7 separate regions of the Homo sapiens genome follow, and regions 1, 3, 4, 5, 6 and 7 are each linked to region 2. Evidence: promoter capture Hi-C in 16 types of primary human blood cells and fetal thymus (Javierre and others, 2016). All regions are on one chromosome and are shown on one strand. The core of a region is centred on a gene start or on the middle of the fragment in contact, and the rest is flanking DNA. Distances in the headings are between cores, read along the strand shown. Region 1 overlaps PGM5 (phosphoglucomutase 5). Region 2 holds the start of PIP5K1B (phosphatidylinositol-4-phosphate 5-kinase type 1 beta). Region 3 overlaps PIP5K1B (phosphatidylinositol-4-phosphate 5-kinase type 1 beta). Region 4 overlaps PIP5K1B (phosphatidylinositol-4-phosphate 5-kinase type 1 beta). Region 5 overlaps PGM5 (phosphoglucomutase 5). Region 6 overlaps PGM5 (phosphoglucomutase 5). Region 7 overlaps PGM5 (phosphoglucomutase 5).

Evidence for each region. Contacts are between HindIII fragments. The CHiCAGO score rates a contact against its expected background, and 5 or more counts as called.
Region 1: a contact is called between a fragment that was not itself captured here and the fragment with the promoter of PIP5K1B in region 2, in 1 of 17 cell types (total B cells). The highest score is 6.4, in total B cells.
Region 3: a fragment that was not itself captured here is called in contact with the fragment with the promoter of PIP5K1B in region 2 in 5 of 17 cell types (total B cells, naive B cells, megakaryocytes and 2 more); the score reaches 15.1 in total B cells.
Region 4: a fragment that was not itself captured here is called in contact with the fragment with the promoter of PIP5K1B in region 2 in 5 of 17 cell types (naive B cells, total B cells, erythroblasts and 2 more); the score reaches 10.9 in naive B cells.
Region 5: a contact is called between a fragment that was not itself captured here and the fragment with the promoter of PIP5K1B in region 2, in 2 of 17 cell types (naive B cells and total B cells). The highest score is 5.3, in naive B cells.
Region 6: a fragment that was not itself captured here is called in contact with the fragment with the promoter of PIP5K1B in region 2 in 1 of 17 cell types (neutrophils); the score reaches 7.1 in neutrophils.
Region 7: a fragment that was not itself captured here is called in contact with the fragment with the promoter of PIP5K1B in region 2 in 2 of 17 cell types (naive B cells and total B cells); the score reaches 8.1 in naive B cells.

Annotation. Positions count from the first base shown.
Region 1 is chr9:68,530,440-68,533,212 of GRCh38, forward strand. It overlaps PGM5 (phosphoglucomutase 5), which reads left to right. Exons shown (of 11, transcript NM_021965.4): 11 at 1-622. Among named protein-coding and RNA genes, the nearest start is that of TMEM252, 9.1 kb to the right of the region's middle. The HindIII fragment of the contact is 3,321 bases long and covers 1-2,773 here.
Region 2 is chr9:68,703,962-68,706,733 of GRCh38, forward strand. PIP5K1B (phosphatidylinositol-4-phosphate 5-kinase type 1 beta) reads left to right here and starts at 1,279. Exons shown (of 16, transcript NM_003558.4): 1 at 1,279-1,801. RefSeq lists enhancers at 793-1,718, 2,407-2,496 and a silencer at 1,137-1,656. The HindIII fragment of the contact is 6,803 bases long and covers 1-2,772 here.
Region 3 is chr9:68,894,977-68,897,693 of GRCh38, forward strand. The region is part of intron 8 of PIP5K1B (phosphatidylinositol-4-phosphate 5-kinase type 1 beta); the gene reads left to right. Among named protein-coding and RNA genes, the nearest start is that of PABIR1, 120 kb to the left of the region's middle. RefSeq lists an enhancer at 1,173-1,322. The HindIII fragment of the contact is 2,284 bases long and covers 198-2,481 here.
Region 4 is chr9:68,874,145-68,876,844 of GRCh38, forward strand. PIP5K1B (phosphatidylinositol-4-phosphate 5-kinase type 1 beta) reads left to right here. Exons shown (of 16, transcript NM_003558.4): 6 at 2,533-2,650. Among named protein-coding and RNA genes, the nearest start is that of PABIR1, 95 kb to the left of the region's middle. The HindIII fragment of the contact is 7,190 bases long and covers 1-2,700 here.
Region 5 is chr9:68,492,924-68,495,738 of GRCh38, forward strand. All of the region lies in intron 9 of PGM5 (phosphoglucomutase 5), which reads left to right. Among named protein-coding and RNA genes, the nearest start is that of TMEM252, 47 kb to the right of the region's middle. The HindIII fragment of the contact is 225 bases long and covers 1,368-1,592 here.
Region 6 is chr9:68,452,821-68,455,520 of GRCh38, forward strand. The region is part of intron 6 of PGM5 (phosphoglucomutase 5); the gene reads left to right. Among named protein-coding and RNA genes, the nearest start is that of TMEM252, 87 kb to the right of the region's middle. The HindIII fragment of the contact is 7,166 bases long and covers 1-2,700 here.
Region 7 is chr9:68,511,025-68,513,724 of GRCh38, forward strand. All of the region lies in intron 10 of PGM5 (phosphoglucomutase 5), which reads left to right. Among named protein-coding and RNA genes, the nearest start is that of TMEM252, 29 kb to the right of the region's middle. The HindIII fragment of the contact is 3,051 bases long and covers 1-2,700 here.

The DNA.
Region 1 (2,773 bases), core at 224-2,723, 170 kb before region 2:
AGGGGATCCTTCCTTGATTACATCAAGTATGTTGGTACATGGGTTTATACAAGTTCCTCTTGAGAAGGCAAAAAGACCACCATGTGTGAGAGCTCTTTGACTTGGCCAATAGGGGCCTATCTTAATGCACTTGTTTGGACACATTTCTGATCTTATTTGTAAAGGCTGCAAAAGGAGAGGATGAAATGCTGTAAAAGTAGGAAATGAAGTGGAAGCTGGAAGAAAATGTAATTGGTGGTACAGCTATGGGCCAGATGGTGGAGGGGAGGGTGGGGACCCCTGCCGGCAAGCAGAGTGTCACAGCTGGCTTTCCTCACTTGGGAAAAGGGTACTGCCGGTCTAGCAGCCTCCTCTGTACTCAGCCAGGACACCCAGCGCGTGGGACCTGTTTGTGTCTGTTTTGCTTCCTTGGGAACGGCACAGTCACTCACCCTGCCATTTGCGGAAATGACCTGGTGCACTTTGACTGTTAAGCAATGCGTTATTGCTGTAGTCAAGGTTAGTGCAAGCAAGGAAACATTCCCAGTAAGGTATTTGTTTCCATTTTCTGTCTGTGCTTCTGTCAGAAACTTGCTAGGACATTTAGTGGCCAATAAAAAAGAAATTCCTAATTTCAACCTTATCCAAGGATTGTGGGTTTTTACTTATTTGTTTGTCTCACCAGTTGAGAAACTCCAGTACTGGTCACCTATCCTGATAAATCTGCCTTTCAGAAAACCTGCAAGGGCTGTTTTTCACTATTATGGCAAGAGACATGTATTAAATGGAACAGAAAAGGTAAGTTACTCAAAACTGCCTTTGGGAGTCAGCAGAAACTGAAATGGCATCTAGACCTCCACTGTAACTGTCTTCATTTCAAAATAATAGGAAGGTGGCTTTGAGCTGAGATTCTAAAACAAAACCATTTCAAGATTGATCACCAGTGGAATCAAATTCATGTCATAGCTTTGGTTCTCAGGTTCTTGTCTCAAGAGTGGACATCTATGCTAGCCATCCATGTGTTCATTAATCACGGATGTCTTGGTTGGGACGCTCAGATGTATTCTTAGGTGTATCAGCTCTAGGTAAGAAAATATTTATTTTCTCAAGTTGCTGAACTTTTAATGATCTCTAACTTGTAAGTTCATATGTAAATTAGTCCTTACATAAAAATTATATTTCTTTATTTTGATATGGAGTCATGCGTGGACAGTAGCCCAAATATATATTTAGCCATCAGTCCATCCATTCATCCATCTATGTGTTCATTCATTCATTCTGTGGACATTGGTTGAGCAACTCCTCTAGGCAGAGTTCTGTTTTAGATGGGGCAAAGAAATGGATAAAACATTATTCCTGATCTTATAAGTTTATAATTTGGGAGTAGGAGGCTATGACAAACATACACAAATAATCAGTTAGACAAAAATGTTATGAGAGACACAAATAATGTGCTGTGGGACTACACAGAGAGGGGCAATAGACTCAGAGACGGTGGCACGAGAGTGGTTTCCACAAGAGTAGAGTTGCTTGGGATTTGTAAGCATTTACAGAATTTCATCAAGGATGAGTGAAGTCAGAAGACAGACTAGGAGATGAGGGTTAGGATGGCTGGAGAGGAGACTTGCTTGGGGTCTCCTGAGGAGTTGGCTTGGATGCATGGGGTTGAAGCAGGCACAGGGTTGTGAATGTCAGGCAGAGCAAAGCCTTGGGCCCAGCCACCGGAAGAAGCAGCTACATAGCTGCCTATTTTGACAGAGTTTTTTCAGCTATGTTGTCAAGGGAAGGTCTTTTGGTGGGTCTAGGACACAGTCATTCTCTGGAACCTGCTCTGATTCACATTGCCAAGATATTATTTCTGCCTTACTTGAAATCCAAACTTCTCTTGCCGAACTATATGTGTACATCCTCTTGCCTAATTCTCGGGAGAGGAGAGAGGCAGGAAGTCACTGTTCCCCATATGATGTTCTTTATGTTCTTAAAGATGAAGCTCTAGGCTGGGCGTAGTGGCTTACACCTGTTATCCCAGCAATTTGGAAGGCCCAGGTGGGTGGATCACTTGAGGTCAGGAGTTTGAGACCAGCCTGGCCAACATAGTGAAACATTGTCTCTACCAAAAATACAAAAATTAGCCAGACGTGGTGGTGCATGCTTGTAATCCCAGCTACCCAGGAGGCTGAGGCAGGCAAATAGCTTGAACTTAGGAGGTGGAGGTTGCCGTGAGCCAAAATGGAGCAGTGTGCACTCCAGCATGGGCAACAGCAAGACTCTATTAAAAAAAAAAAAAAAAAAAAAAAAGAGCTGTAGCCACTGTAGCCACTGATCTTTGAGAGTAAATGACTTGACCGGGCGCAGTGGCTCGTGCCTGTAATCCCATCACTTTGGGAGGCCGAGGCAGGCGGATCACGAGGTCAGGAGTTTGAGACCAGTCTGGCCAACATAGTGAAACTCTGTCTCTACTAAAAATACAAAAAATTAACTGAGTGTGGTGGTGTGTGCCTGTAATCCCAGCTACTCAGGAGGCTGAGGCAGGAGAATTGCGTGAACTCGGGAGACGGCAGTGAGCCGAGATCATGCCATTGCACTCCAGCCAAGGTGACAATGTGAGACTCCGTCTCAAAAAAAAAAAAAAAAAAAAAAAACAGGAAATGACTTTAAAGGCCCCAAATTTCATGGGAACTGCAAGAGTCAATCAGAGGAAACTATGGATAGAGTGTGGCAACTTCCAGGGCAACTCTGGTGATCTGCTGTTACAGAGGGGTTCACTCATTACAGCACGTGTCTGCAGAAAAAT
Region 2 (2,772 bases), core at 29-2,528:
AGGAGAAAACCAGACCCAAGTCACAGGGTTCTAAACAAACCATACCTTAAATCTCTCAGTAATGGCCAGCCACATCTGCAAGAAGCAGGCTGGGAAAACAGCTGAAGAATAACAGATATTTGTTTTATTTGTCAATTATGGCTCAGTAAAGCTAAAAAAAAATAGATACTTCTGTTATCAAGAAATTATTGCACTTGATTCAAGGCTGATATTAAACCATAGCAGACTCACTCAAGGTGGGGGGTGAGAGAAACAAAGAGATTACAAAACTGAAAAGAGGTGTTCATTTGCAGAGAACTAAGGGAGTATCCTTCAAACAGAAACTGGAAGCCAGAGATCTCTGAAGATAAGGATCATGAAATGTTGTTATTCCCCAGACAGAATGTATCCCACGTTTTCCACCGGCGTTGTTTTTGGTAAAGAAGGGTAAGTGGAAGGAAGTGATGAGGCTGAAAAATACCATTTGCTTCAATTCAGCCGCGAAGGATCCGCTACCTTTTGGTTCCTATTAAGTGAATTTAGCTTTAGCTTTCATGATAGCATTTTCCCAAAGGAGTCCTTTAGATCTGACCCCTACCCTCTTCGCAGCTAGACTGACATCAGGTGACGTTGCAAGTGCCCCCAGCCCACTAAGCGCTATCAGTAGGAATTGGCCCTCAGCCCCGTCACAGCGCTTTCCCATGACATCCCCCAGCTTCTCTCTCCTAGGACCTCCTCGCCAGCCTACCCCTACCTGTTGGGTAGGTCTTACTTGCTGGGAACACCTGCTGTCCTTAGAATGGGAGCAACCAACGCCTTGGAATCCTGGCCTGTCCCTTCCTCGTGAAGGGGGCGCCTGCGCTCAAGTGCCGGCTTCGCCGCCTCAGGCAGAGTCTAGCAGGCGGGCGACCAGGCGTAGCTGAGTTCTGTGGCCTGGGGAAAGGGGACGCCCTATCCCCACAGCCCTGTTTCGCAGGGCTTCAAGACGCTGAGAACGGCCGGGAACCCCTGGAGTCTTGGAGGCACCCGCCAATTCCAGGGGCCCACCCCAACCCCGCTCTCAGTCTGGGCCAGCGGCGGCGGGACAGGCGCCCGGTCCCCACACACCGGCTGAGACGCCCAGCCCACTGCGGCTGAAGCTCCGGCCGCTGTTGCGGCAGGTGCTGCAAACCGGTCTGCCTTCGCTGCAGGGCTTGCGGGGATGGGGCAAGTGGGTGGAGAGAAAAGGGGAAGAGCCTGGGCGGCCGGCAGGCGGGGCCTGCAGCCTCCCCAGCCGCGGCAGCCGCCGCGCAGCCGGCTCTCTCTGCGCCTCGCTCCGACTCCGGCGCGCACCAAGCGGGAACCCGCGCCCGAGCCCGGCGGGCGCCGCTGCTGCTCCTCTCGGTCCCCGGTTCCCGGTCCCCGAACGCGCCGCGGCGAGGCTGCGCCCGGCAGTGGAGCCGCTCGGAGCTGCTGGGCTTTGGCGGCCGCTCGCTGCTCCGTCTGGCCGGAGGACCGGCGGGGAAGGAAGGGGAAAGCGGGGACACACACACTCGCCGCGGCGCGCGCGCACTGCACACTCGTAGCCGCGCGCCCCCGCCAAGGCGCGTCCGGAGCGAGTTTGGCCCCGCGGCTCCAGCCCCGGCACCTGCCCGCCCTCAGCGTTGCCCCCGGCCCCGGCCCCGCCCGCCGCCCCCTCCGCCCTCCCGCCCCTCCCGCCCCTCCCGCCCCTCGCCTGCACTGCTCTCCCTTCGCTGTGGGGAAGCGACAACGTCCCGATAACTTGCAGACTGTGGCGCAACTGGTCTTGGTAGCGGAGGCACCCGAATGCTGCCCGGGTGAGGTAAGTTTCCTGTGCGTCCCCGGCCCCTTCCCACTAGACCCTTCTGAGGGGCTTGCGCTTAGGGGCTCTGCATCTCTGCTGAAACCCGTCGGTCTCTCTACCCTTCCACTTTGCCTGTCTGCGTTGTGCTGGGGGTGACGTGGAGAGGGCGCCCGTGGCCACCGAAGCGGACCTTCGTTCCGCGGGGGCCACAGCTGCGCGCTCCCAACGGACACCCACCCGCTCGTCACCCGGATCCCCGGGGCCGCAGTGACACTCGGAGATCACTCTGGGTTCACTTAAATAGGAGTACTCTCCCCTTTTCCGGGGAACCTGCAGAGTTTGGCAGCGGAAGGAAAGGTCTCCCACCACCCTCCCCCGGTACGAAACAGCGGTGAACTTGTTAGGCGCCCTGGTATCTCAAGAGGGGCTTGCGAGTTGGTGTTCTGCTCATTTCTGGCGCTGGTGCCGGATTGAACAGGTGCGGTATGGTTCCAGTCTAAATGCAGCAACAGACTTCTGCGTTTCCCAGGCTTTCTCCCCCAGCCTGGTCAACGTGACGCTTCAACATCTGGGGCAGGGGCTGGGAGTGTAGGGGCACTGGGGAGGGAGAATGCCCGGGTTTGATTTACTATGCCGGTGCCAGGAGTCGCCAGAACAGAAGAAAACAAATGTCTGCTTATCTGGCATCTATGCAGATGAGCGTGTTGTCATTTCTTATCCCCCCCAACCCCCAGCTCTCTTGTCTGGTGCCCAGCGTGGCTGAGTAGAAACCTATTCCGGAGAAGTTATTTGGGTAGATTGATTAATTCTTTCATCGAATCTACTGAAATCAGGGCTCCGAACAAGGCAATCCTAGTTACTCTGATGCTTTTTTAAAGGGAGCGTGTTACAGATCAGAAATAACACCCACTATCATCACTACCTCTCTGTGACATTCTCAGATGCAGGAGGCCCTAGCTTTAAGGGGAATGATCCTTAAGGGACCGGTA
Region 3 (2,717 bases), core at 90-2,589, 190 kb after region 2:
ATGTGGTGTTGAGTAAGAAAAGCCGTATAGAAATCTTGGAAGAAGTAAGACTCGAACTGGGGAGACAAGTTTAAAGAAAATGTACTTGGGATTAATAATGGCTCCCTAGAGATCAGTGTGGATGCAAAACTATGATATGAGCAGCACGTTTGCTGAAATTATTTTATGTGGTCTGAATAAGAGGTGAGCAGGAATGAAGCTTGCCAATTAGGGCAGACACCATTCCATGCAAACTTAGCTGGAGTGATTGTCCAAAGTGGGGAGGAATTCCCCCAGGCTGCAATGCTTTAAAAAAAAAAAAAAAAAAAAAACTAAGGGAAGATTTTTTCTAACATGGTGAAAAGAGATAAAAATTTTTTTAGAGAAAAGAAAAATGCAGTGCTAATAACTTCTGAAGGATAATAATCATGGGAGAACCGTCCAGCCACTTGGCTAAGTTGGGTAGTGGAGGTGGGCAGAAAGCATGATGGCACAGGCTGTGGTTTTCTGCACTTTCCATGGGCCTGGACGGATGACCCATGTTGTTATAGGGGAGGGGAGACACTTCTCTGCCAGACCCAAACTCACGTGAAGGTGAGGAAGACAGTCTGACACCCCTTCTAAGGTATAAAGTAGGGAATTTCCACTAAGGAACACAGGTCTACTGTTTCTGTTTTTTTTTTTTTTATTTCTTCCTTTCTGCCTGTTATAGCTTGCATGATTGTGCACAAAAATGTGTCCTTAGAATTGTTTTTCTTTATTGACAGAGATGTTACTCCTATTGTTTAGCTACCGTTTATTGAATGCTTACAGTATGCCAGGTTAGTCTAAGGTTTTTTTAATGCATCATTTCACTTAATTCTCTCAGCAATTCTTTGGAGTCAGTACTATTCATACTTCCATTTTAATTGCTGAAGAATTGGGTTCTTAAAGAGATTCAGAAACTTATCCAGCATTACTTACCAAGTCAATGACAGAGCCCACATCTGTTTGGGTACAAAGGCATGTGCTTCTAACAACTAAAACTTAAAGTCTCACTCTGAGGATTTTTTTTTAATTATCTTTTCAGAAGTCAGGGAAGGAGCAGTAGGAACCAAGCAAACAGACGAACAAAAAACGTCCAGCAGATATTCAGATATCTGAGTGGATTTGAGTGATGCATGTTTTTCTATTCAAAAAACGTAAAAACAGAACACACATATTTTAGTAGAAATCTTTTTCCTGTGTTTTTTCTGCCCTTTACAGGATGTGGGTAAAAAGTGACTCTCAATTCCCCAGAGTTTAGTGTCAGCCTCTCCAGTTTTAAGTTTGCTTTCTCTTTTGTGTGCTTCTTGCCTCTTTAGTATGGAAAGCCTTTATCTGCTGCCTTCTAATACCACATGCTTCTCTGCCAGAAAAAAAAAAAAAAGCAAATGTAAAAGAGCCATTGCTCAGGATTTGTCTATTTATTAGTGTTTCCTGAGCTCAGGACTGAGACCGCGAGGTCAAACCAAACTTTTCATCACAAGTGAGACCCTGGAGATTTGCCTTTTTATTTTTTATTCTTTGGCAGGTTTGTTGTTCTAAGGAACATAAAGGTCAAGGTAGAGGTATCCTGAGGCTAACTCCCTCTTACTCACTGCATTTGCAGTTGTACAAGACACAGATCCTGGACATTCTTCAAAATATGTACATCTGCCTTCAGAAAGGCTTCTCTTGGGCTGGTATGGGAGTGTGTAAATGCTGAGCTGTAGGGGAACTCAGCTCCCTTCCCTGATCTGTCCTGACCATGACCAAGTCCTCTGGGATCTGGATTCAACAGCTGGTGCTCTGAGCAGAGCTGCCTCAAGGAAAGCCTATTTCTGGAATGGTGAATATTAATATTTAATAGTCAAGGGCCTCTTAGTAAATCGTATGAATGCTGTGAACTCTCCTCCCCCCAAAAAATGCCCATCCTCGTGATGGATCGTGAATCTCTTGGAGCCCGTTGTTCCTTCCCTTCCTTCTTCCCCAAGGCTCAGAATCCCCTTCCTAGAGTTACCTCTCTCTCTCTTCAGGTCATCCTCTGAAAGGCCAACTCACTGGATGATTGCAATAGGATATGTGGTTGACATCGCCCCAATATTGCCCTTGCTTTGCAGAGCTGAGCCTCAGTGCTGGCTGAGGGGCTGCAGAGACCCAGAGGGTCTGCAAGGTTAGTCTGAGCTGAGGCCAGCACCTATCAATCAGGAATCTCCTCTGCTAAAATTCCTGTGAGACAGTATGGCTAAGGCTCTAGAAACAAACCAGTTAGAGAAATGTATTACTGTATCAGCACCCCAGGCAGAGAAAGGTGAACTAAACCTATATTAGGATATATGCTTCTATTCACTTATCAGCACATATTGCAAGCACACTACATGCCAAGCATGAGGTGCACGACCTTTATTTTTTATCAATTGCCATACAGTCTAGTATGTGCAATGATATTATATTGTGAAGATTAGAGTAGGGAACATTGTAGCTTGCTTTTAAAGGATGAGAAGCTTTCTCCGGATAGGCAAAGCAGTAGAAGCATATTTCTAGGATAAGAGAACAATAGGTATGAAACAATGGGTGTGAAATAGCACAATGTGTTCCGGGAGCTATAGTTGTTTGGTTTTGGGGCAGTTAATAGGGAGAGCATGTGGGGTAGAAGAGGAAAGTGGCCACATAATATGAGAGCCACATATTGTCAGAAGACCCTTTCTGGTGGTGCCAGGGAGCTCTTAAGGACTTAG
Region 4 (2,700 bases), core at 67-2,566, 170 kb after region 2:
TTAAGTATTATGCCCACTCCTTTTCATTTTCTCTGTTTATACAAATATAATTTCTTGATTATCCCATGTAGGTAAGCCTGCCTCACAGTTGGCCCATACTTCTCCATGTCTTAATATGGCCCAAAGATAGCTAGATTTAATTCTTTTTCATGGAATGATTTAGTGGTTTTTTTGAATGACCAAATACCTGTTATTATTTCTGTATGCCTAAGGAAATAAATGTTCCCCTTCTCTACCTGAAGCTGCTCTGCTGTGTGTACATGAGCATTCTTGTGTGTATGGGTGTACGTGTGTCTGTGTGTCTGTCTCACCTCCAGGGAAACCTAACACTATCGTTTTATACCATAACTGAATAAATCACAGCAGTCAGAGAGATGTGAACCCAAGGAAAATTATTATAATTAATGGAAACTTCAGGGAAAGATGAATAATCCAAGGAGCTCAGAACTAACCCAAAATGAAAATAATAATAGTAAATGCAGCATCCTCTCTGATAAAATCTTGGGCCCAAAACTGCAACAAAATGAGAAACTCCATTTAGGTGGAACATGGGTGTTTTATCTTACCTCTTTGAATGTTGAAGGAAATCTGCTCCAGTAGAATGAGTTACTTTGTATGGGATAGAAGGTGAAAAAGAGAGAAGAAATTGGCAACACTCTTAGCCCACTGAAAGCAGCCTGCTTCAGAACCTAAGGCCTTGTGGTTATTTTTACTCGCTTGCAAAAGTGAGGAAGGATGTTATAGGTCTCTTTGAGCCTCTTTGCTTTTACCCTTTATTTCTATATGATCTACATTTATATTAATAAATTATTACATGCCATATAAGTTCCAGAATCATTCCTTTTGACAGTCCCATGGGATTTAATCCCCTCCTAAATCCCAAAATATAGAAAGAGAAAATGTTTGGGTACAGCACTGGGGCATCATGCATACTGAATATTCAACAATAACCATTTGAATGAGTGGATGATTTGGGGGTCATTCCTTACTATGTGACTGCTCTTCTCTCAGGCAGTCTTAGTCCCTGTGTCACTCTCCTAGTGTGTAGCCGGGCTGCTGCCTGAGTGTAATCCTAGCCTTTCAAGATAACCATTTATTATATGGTGCTGACCCCTAACAACACAAGCCAGCTCCATCCTCTGGTACTCAGCAAAAAAAAAAAAAAAAAAAAAAAAAAAAAAACAGTCATCTGTAATCGTGCAGGAGGAAAAACTAGTTGCGTTGGTTATATTGAATAGATACTTCCTAAATAGTTTTCAAGGGTGACCTGTGACTATGCTGAATTTCTGCCTTACATATTGATTTTCTAATGTAAATTCCATGTAATAATCAAATCTTCTCTGTTAACATTATGTTGAAGACTCATTCCTTCACTCAACAAATACTTATTGAGTGTCTGCTATGTGCCAGGCATTGATGCAAGAATCTGATTGATCTGAACAACTTAAACTATAGTAGATCCAAAGTGTTTATTCTGTGCTGAAAGCCTTTGTCATTTGCCCAGTCCTTTTTGTGTGGTATCCATAAAAAGCAGACCATGATAAACTTGCATAGGCTCTCAATGTCCCACCTAGAATGTAGATCAAAGGGATTTTGAACCTTTACATAAAATTCTATTGCATTGTTCTAATTTTTCTGAAAATTTTAAGAACAAAAACACTGAAAAATTTAAGAATGAGTGGCTTAGGTGGTTTGACTGAGCTCATGTATTAGGTAATATTGTATGGAGTCAAAGAATAAAAAGGATGAGATTGATAAACATCAACATTTAGGCCAGTGGATCCCTCTATGGATCTGAGCAGTAAAAAGTACAGAAGGGGCTTCAACTGTATGGATAATGTTTTATGTCTTAAGCAGCATTTTGGATTCATTGATATTCACTGGTTTATTCTTTGTACATTTTATATATCATAAATATTGTGTATAATTTTTCAAAATGAACCCAGAAAAAGGAAAAGAAGATAATGATATATTGAGGAATGGAAATCAGGTTTTAAATTTTTTAAATATGTAAGGTCTCCTTTTTTGGAAAATGTAAATAAAAGAGTTCAGATTGGGGTCCTATTCCATGTGATGGTTCTCTCTGTTGGTAGGATGTTTTAAGAATTATTTCACTTATCCCTGGTTAACAATGTTTGTCAAATATCCAAAATTCGTGGTTAAAAAAATGCATTTTTGAAATTGCTCCACACTCTAAGGCCTAGATCTTTTACCCAAAGCATTACAATGTGGTTACACTGGTGATAATGGAGTGATCTTCCCAGGAAGAAGGCACAAGGGGATAAATGAATTTTCAGGCATGTGACACTGATTGACAGGGAAAGCCTGCACGGAGTGACCTCACTAACTAACGTCTTATTCTGCCTGGTTATCATTGGCCTTTATGACATGAACTTTGAGAAACCCGCTCTCAGGGGATGATTTTTCTAGAGATAACATTGGCCCAGGACTAATAGAGCTACAATTTGCGGTCAAAATTGTCCTTGCTAATGTGTTCTTTCTTTCTCTCTCTTTTTAATATTTTGACTTCAGCGAAGGGAGCAATCTGACCCCAGCACATCACTACCCAGACTTTAGATTTAAGACATACGCTCCATTAGCATTCCGATATTTCAGAGAACTTTTTGGTATCAAGCCTGATGATTACTTGGTAAGAACCTGTCATTTTTCTTCCTTCTATAGAAATGTGTGATGTAAACA
Region 5 (2,815 bases), core at 230-2,729, 210 kb before region 2:
AGATAAATCGTTGTGATTTCCTGTGGGAGATAAGATCTGAGTTAGGCTCGCAGAGTCTCTCTCTTCCAAGGCTGTCCTGTCTCCAGGTTCACATGCCTGCTGTGGCCAACTGACTATATATGCGACACTGTACCAGATTGCAGGGCCATATGCTGTTTTCCCCTGGAATTCATCCCAAGTCAGTATTTGACTAGGTCCAATGCTGCCAAATAACTGTTGGTAATGTACAGTTCACCCTTCCCTGCCTGGCTACAACATGTCCTACAGTCTCCAAACTAATATCTGGCAGCTCTGTGTGTATTTAGCAACTTACAGATTTCCCTGTATTGATTTACACAAGGGTTTATTTTTAAAATTAAAAAAATAGTAAAAACCCTAACATTTATTTATCAAACATTTATCAGATACCTACTCTACATAAGGCTCTGTGTCAGCTTTGGGAAAAATACAAAACATAAGATATTGTTCAGATATTTCGCATGAGAAGCAATGTGTGAATATCAGTAGTTGCATATGGTTCAACCTCAGATTGTAAGCCTAGAGTCAGAAGACCTAAATGGAAGTAAATGAAGCTCCTCCATTTACTAAATACGTTACCTTGAGCAAGTGTTTTAACTTCTTTCTTTTCAATAAAAAGAGAGATTGGCAAGAATGACTCTAAGATCCTTCTTTCAGGATGTTAAGATCTGACACTCACAACAACCCAATAAGCTAGGCTGTATTATTTTTCAACTGCTTTTTAGGAAACTAAGGCTTAGAGAGCTTAAGTGACTCAAGACCACCAGCTAAAAAAGTGGCCAAGCCAGCATTCTAGCCTGAGTTTATCCAGTTGCTATTCTTGTATCATTTCCAAACTGACTCTTCATAAACAGCAAATCAAAGAGGGGGCAAATCCAGGGAGAAAAAGAGATGCTACAGTGATAACTGGAAGCACACTGAAGGATTTTTGTGTGGAGATAGCTGCATATGGACAAGGGTTATGAAATCCTTTATCAATCATTCTTCACTGGGACAAAGCTAAGGTGAGCAGAACTCGACTGTCATCATTAAAGCTCACAACCACAGGCACTGAAAAGTAAGGAAAACACTAAGCTGGAACTGAAGTGCTCTTTTGATACCCACACTCCTCCCCACCACATAATTAACATTGTCTTCTAATAAAGGAGAGCATATTTTTCCCTTTTTTGAGTGTGTGGCTATGTGTCATCCTGGATATTCCGGCTACTCTAGCTGCTGTGGCTAGTGAGATATCATGAATTCTTTCACAGTTGCTCCAGGAATTCCTACGAAGACTGTGCTAAAAAAAAAAAATAATAATGTCAGATGGTTCAAGAGGTGGTTCTGCTGCTGACAAGGCCCCAGGGGGAAGCTTTCAGGATTCAGTGGCATGAAGTTGTTTTATTAGCCTCACTGTGTTAACAGCCCTCCTACAGTCCCAGCCCAGTGAGAGCCTATGTATGAAACCTTAAATCCTAAAGGGACCTTCCTTATAAGGGACATGTAGCACAGTCCAGTCACTTGATAGATGAGGCAAGTGACCCAGAAAAAAGAGGTTATTGCAATTAGTTACTGCACATTAGAATCACCCAGAAAGCTTTTAAAATCCTAATTCCCAAGTAACACCCCAAAAGAATTAAATCACAATGTTTGGGGTGAAAGCCAGGCACCACCATTTTTTAAAGACCTCCCACTGATTTCAATATGTAGCATTTTGCAATTAATGAGCTAATGGTTTGCCTAAGGTCATACATCTGGGGACAAGAACCTACCATGGTTCAACTCCATTGTTTTTAGCCAAAACTGGCCCTTGTCTTAAGACATCTTGAGAAATGGTGGAGGAATAAACAGTCAAGCCCTGCCATGATGATGCTATGCCAGGCACTTTCTTAGTTTATCTTTTGCAACCACTCTTCAAGGTAGATACATCAGCTCTAGTTCACCATGAAGAACGTGCATGTGTTTTCATGTAGCCTGTGGATCCTTGCTAAATGCGAAGGCAGGCTCTCTGAGACTGCCTCAGGGGGACTGCAGTGGTGCTCACTTTAGTTGTCGAACGTGCAGTGACATTCATTCAACAAGTGTTTATGGAAGGTCTACAGTGTGCCAGGCATTGTCCTAGGCTATGTGGATAAAATGATGATGAATGAGGTATATAAGGCTCTGTCCTCCCAGAGCTTGTTAGCTAATGAAGAACCCAAAGTCATAACTCAGCAAGTCCAAAATTTTAAGGTTAACACTGCGGTGGAAACTTGTTTTATTCATTTTCACTGAGCCTTGTTTCTTCAAGACTTGTGGCGGCAAAAACACACATAATGAAGTTGTTAGAATATAAATAAGAAACATAAATCAAGACTAGGGAATATATAAGTAAGAGTAGAGTCAAGAACAGAAGAAGAAAAATTTATAGTCATGCAAGTCATGAGGATCCACTTGGGCTGAACCTCAAATTTGGCATTAAGTATCCTGGCAGCCATATCGAAAAGGGAAATGTGGTTAGTTACAAAGTTCTTATTGTCAGAAAGAAAAAGAATACAAGTTCCTTAGGGAAGGAAAGGCTTTCCTAATACTTGGCTCTTGAAGGAATGTCTCAGGCAGAGCTTCATACAGCCTCTAACAATATTTCTACTAGTGACTACAAAAGTGGATTTTATAAGACATAGCTTGTAGCATCCTGCAGTAAAAGTGAGAACATAAAACTAAAGTGCAATTTAATAAATTCATTTATGTTAGGAGTAGGTGGTGAGAGGTAAGTTGATTTGAGCCAAATACAGGTTCAGGTGAACCTATGACTAGAAGCTGGAACACCAGGGAATGG
Region 6 (2,700 bases), core at 30-2,529, 250 kb before region 2:
AGGGGTATCTCTGCTTCCAAGGCATCACCTTCCAACATCTCCTTTCTCAAGGCTCTTTGGACAAGACATCTTGCTGGGAATCCTTGATGTGAGTTAAAAGCATTTAACATAGTCCTTCTTCTCCCTTGCTCTTCAAAAGTGTTCAGTAGGAGTAAATTCCCTTGGACCCCACCACTATCATAGTCCTATGAAGAAAATATTGGTTGGTAAATCTTAGCCAGCATTTTCCCATGTGTGCTGAATGAAACCACCAACTCCACAAGGTGCTCTGTGTAAATGTGAGAAATGTATACTCTACCCTCTTTGTGAAGTTTTACAATGAAATGAGCATTTGGTTTTGAAATATCCTGCCAAAGTAGAGAGTCCACTTTTACCATAGTCTCTTACCTTTTCATAATAAATTTATAGCACTGGACTTGGTAAATTAACATATAAGGTTATTAACCTTTTCAGCCAACCCTTTGTATGTAATTCCTTTGGAAATTCATCCACCATCGCTTAATTTTATCTTAAACTTTCTGGTTTGGTTTTGTTTTTTGAGACAGGGTCTTGCTGCTGCCCAGGCTGGAGTACAGTGGCATAATTATAGCTAACTGCAGCCTTGAACTCCTGGGCTCAAGCAATCCTCCCATCTCAGCCTCCCAAGTAGATGAGACTACAGGTGCACACCACCACAGCTGGCTAATTTTAGTATTTTTTCTTTTTTTGAGCCAGGAGTTTTGCCTAGGGTGGTCTCAAACTCCTGGGCTCAAGCTATCCCCCCTCCTTGGCCTCCCAAAGTGTTGGGATTACAGGGGTGAACATGCTGTAATCTCCCTCCTTATCTCAAACTTTCAATCATCCCATGTATTTGCTTCCACTGGTATTTTAAGACCAAGTTCTGGAAGCACCTTTATATTAATGTAGGAGGAGTCCATGTTCTGATGGGCCCCATGAAGTTTGCATGAAATGAGCAAGTGTCTTTAAGCACTTACCTTCAAGAGACTAACGGATTAGAGAAGGAGTTAGGTGTCCCAGCATCTAAGGCAATATCCTGTGCTGAGTGTCTAACTCCTGGGGTTTGCAGTGGCAGTACAAAGAGAGGACTGGCCAGATAAACCTGGAAAGTAAGGAAGCGGCCTAAGTCCAGGAGGGGGTGGATGAAGAGTGTACTGGTGTCTTTCATTTTCCTTCAAGACCTCCACTCCATCTCTTTCTCTCTGCTCCCCGTCCTGTAGACTGACCTATAGGGACTATCAAGAGATCCCCACCCTTCCCTCCAGATTTTAGTTGGGCTTGGGCAATTGGGAGCACTGCAGTTACTAGACAGAAGGAGGAGAATGCAAGCAGGGATTTCTTTCTCTCCCTATAGGATTTCCATAGGCTGGAAACATGACTCTTCTGAAGGTCAAGGTTCCTGCCAAGCAGCCCTATCCACACAGATCTGTCCCTGGATTTCAGTAATGAATCTAGGGATGGGACGCTGGTAGCCCTGATGTTACTTGCCCTCTCCACTAGCCACACCTGTGTAAACAGTTCCTGTATTAAACTCTCAAACTACTCAGTTTTGAGTGTGCCATCAATTCTGTTGGGGACCTCATTGATACAAGGAGTATCCCTACCTAAGTGAACGATGTGTGCAAAGAACTGAAGTGGCCTGGTGCTTGAAGGGGGCTCCATCTCAAAAATAGTTTGTTATGGCAGGATGATGCCGCAGTAGGAGAGTTCATGAGGCCGATCACTCTTGCCGATGCCCACGGAGTGCTCTGGGGATCCAGGGCTCCCAGGCCTCATCGCATTTAGTCCCCACTGAGTAAGGAGACATATTATCATTCCATTTTGTAGGTAAAAGATCCAGGCTTATGGAGGTTAAGTAACTTGGCCAAGGTTGCACTGCAAGAAGGGGTGGAGCTGCGTGGGGACTGAGAGTCCCTACTCTCCTCCGTGCTAAGACATTAAACTGGATTCCACAGGCAGCGCATGTTTGCCTGCCTTTCCTGCTCACTCAGCCTTAGCTTTTGCTGTAAAACTCTCACGTCCCACAAAAGAACATTGACCTTTCCAATATTCCCTTTCCTCGTAACTATGTGTCATTAAACTGAAGTGTTTCTTTAAAAGACATTAGAGCAGAATTAGTATGGCATGACCTTTCCTTATGCTTCCTGATAAAATTAAACTCAAACCTGGGTGACCGAAGGAAACCCTGGGAAGGTAAATGCAGTCTTGAAGATGGTTCCTTTCAGGCAGGGTGGCTGCCTGTGCATCCCTTGATATATGCTCGTCTTCTCGGAACCATGCAGAGAGAGCTGCCTGTGACCTGATTTGGCTTCATAGGAAACAGCAACCTGCGTCATCCATTGGGTCACAGATCAGAGTTACACGATGAAATGAAACAGGTGGAATGTGGTGTTCAATCCATGGTATTCTGAACCCACCATGGACAGCTGACACTCACATTCCCAAAGGGAATGCAAAGTTTTGCATGTTGCCCTGCTCAGGGCATCTCCGCCTGGAATCGGTAGAGTTTTGGCCCTGAGAGATATTAATCTATTGTCCAAAAAACAGGAACTCCCTAAAGAGAGCCAAAAATAAGAACCATACCCAGGACTGATGAATTCTTTTCTGTGATATTGGTGGACAGGTTAGCAGGAGAAAAGGAAGGGGAAATGTTCATAGTACACAAAGTATAAGCATCATCTCTTAGTTAAAAAAAAAAAAAAA
Region 7 (2,700 bases), core at 170-2,669, 190 kb before region 2:
AGGCTTCAGAGAGAATAGAAGGTAAATGTCTCTTATTAGACCTCAAAAGGTGTCAGACTCTCCAGAGAAGATCTAGCAAGGGAAGGGGATTCTCTACAGAAGGCCGATTTCCCCCACAAAAGATGGCTTTGTAGAGCCATTCCAAATTACGTCAAAGAAATATATTTTGGGGTAAGATGCTTTGATTTCCTTCAGTGCCTGTTATCTGTCATCTGATGCTATATCAGGGTCAGGTTGGAATTTGGTATCTTACTGCTACAAAGAGTCTGTTCTGTCAGTCCTAGAATCTCTAAATGTCAACAGCTAAGCTCCAGAGAGGAGGATATATTGAGGCATATGCTACGCCCTTTTCCTGTTATGGCCTGAACTAGTTTTCGGGATCCTTTTGGCCAATGATTAGGGGCAGGGAGGAGATGTCCATTCAGTCAGTTTGGGGCTTAGAATTATATTTTTGGTTTATACCTGACATGTGAATAAATGTTCAATAAATGTTGATTGTCACTAATGTTATTGTTTTTGCCTTTTTTTTTTTTTTTTTTTTTTTTTAGATGGAGTCTCACTCTGTCACCAGGCTGGAGTGCAGTGGTGCAATCTCAGCTCACTGCAACCTCCACCTCCCAGGTTCAAGCAATTCTCCTGCCTCAGCTTCCTGAGCAGCTGGGACTACAGGCATGCGTCACCATGCCTGGCTAATTTTTGTATTTTTAGTAGAGAAGGGGTTTCACCACCATTATTTTTATTAATAATGGTATTGACTCATTTTCTTATCACATGAGGATAAAAGATTCCCAGATTACTTAGCAATTTGTTTTATAATGCAATTGACTTGTCCTTTTCCCTCCCATTAACATCTCAGAGACCAAACTGGATCTATGAGAAATGTCCCAAGAGAACTGACAGCTTCTAAAAACCTAGGTCTTCTCTGAGAGCTCCCAGGGCTCTCATGACATGGCATTTTAGATGTACCATGCTTTGTCAGAAGGTTCAAGGATGAAGTGGAGTTTCTCTACTTGTCTCTCCATTCATGGAACAAATTCACTGCCCTCCTGGCTTGGAGTAAGAGGTAGTGAGTAGGGGTTGTTCAATGATTTCATTTCATCCAAATAATGTGCAATCTGTTGGTTGTTCCAAGCTCTTTTACCAGAGAGAAAGGGCTTGAACACTGGAGTGGGTGTGTGATGAAAGGCAGGTTCATTGAAGAAAGGATGCCTGAAGTTTCTTTGACTAGCCAGGAGGCATGTGCTCTCTGGCTTCAAGGGATTAAACAGAAAAACTGGTCCCTTGGAGCAGGAGTCAAGTTTTTTCTGAATAGGCCCAGAGAGTAAATAGTTTAGGCTTTGCTAGCTGTATTAGTTTGCTAGGGCTGATATAACAAAGTACCACAAACTGGGTGGCTTACAAAGCAAGAACTTGTTTCTTATTCTGGAGGTTAGAAGTCTGAGATGAGTGTGTTGACAGAGCTGGTTCCCTCTGAGGGCTGTGAGGGAAGGATCTGTTGATCTGTTCCATGCCTCTCTTTTTGGCTCATAGATGGCTGTCTTTTCCCTGTATCTCTTCATTATCATCTTCCTTCTTGTGTGTCTCTGGGTCCAAATTTCCCCTTTTAATAAGGACACCAGTCATATTGGATTAGACCTCACCCTAATGATCTCATTTTAACATGAGTACCTCTGTAAAGGCCCCGTCTTAAAATAATGTCACATTCTGAGGTATTGGCAATTAGGACCTCAACGTATGCACTTATGGAAGACAAATTCAACCCATAATATTAGTCGTATGGTCTGTGTTACAACTTCTCAACTGCCACTGTTGCACAAAAGCCGCCACAGGTAATACATAAATGAATTAGTGAAGCTATATTCCAATAAAACTATAGGCACTGTAATTGACTTAAGATAATTTTAACATGTCACAAAATCTTATTTTTTTCCCAACCATTAAACATAAAAACCATTTTTATGGCTGCACCAAAACCAGGTGGTGGCCAGGGTTTGGCCTAAGGCCTATAATTTGTTGATCCTTGCCTTATAGGTTTCTGAATATGACACGTTATTTACAATTTCTGATTACATTCAGTACAGCATGTATCAACATGAGTTTGGGTAAACCATACACACTATAAATTTCAAAATTACATTTGTATTTGTGTATATTTGTATACATAGATGAATTGTGAAGTTTTAGGGAAAAAAATATCAAATCTCTCTGGAAATCTCCAGCATGAGGCTTCTGAGGTTGAACTCCATAGCTTTTGATTGCAACCAAACATGAAAGGGAAATGATTATGTTTGTATTCATGAAATCAAATTCCTTTTTCAGGTCTTTTGTTTCTTGTCAGAAGGGTTCTTCATTTTTCTTTTTAAAGCAATTGCTTACACATGATTTTCAGAAGAGCAGCACTATGTCAGAAGAAAAGGGAAAAACGTTAAGAAATAAATGGGATGAAAAAAGAAAAGTATGAATATGAGCCCTGGTGAATTCTTACAAAGAAAGGGAAGCAAACACGTGACATTCAGTAGTGACCCCAAGCCAGGGAGTGCTGTGACATTGCATGTCCCTGTGAATGGGGCTTCCGGGAGCTGATAACAAGGTTCTAGTGCATTTCAGTCACATTAACAGTGATCCTCAAACCCAGTCTCCAAGGAACCTCACCCCATTTCCCTAGGAAGTAGCAATTCTGTTGTTTTTATTCTTTCTTTC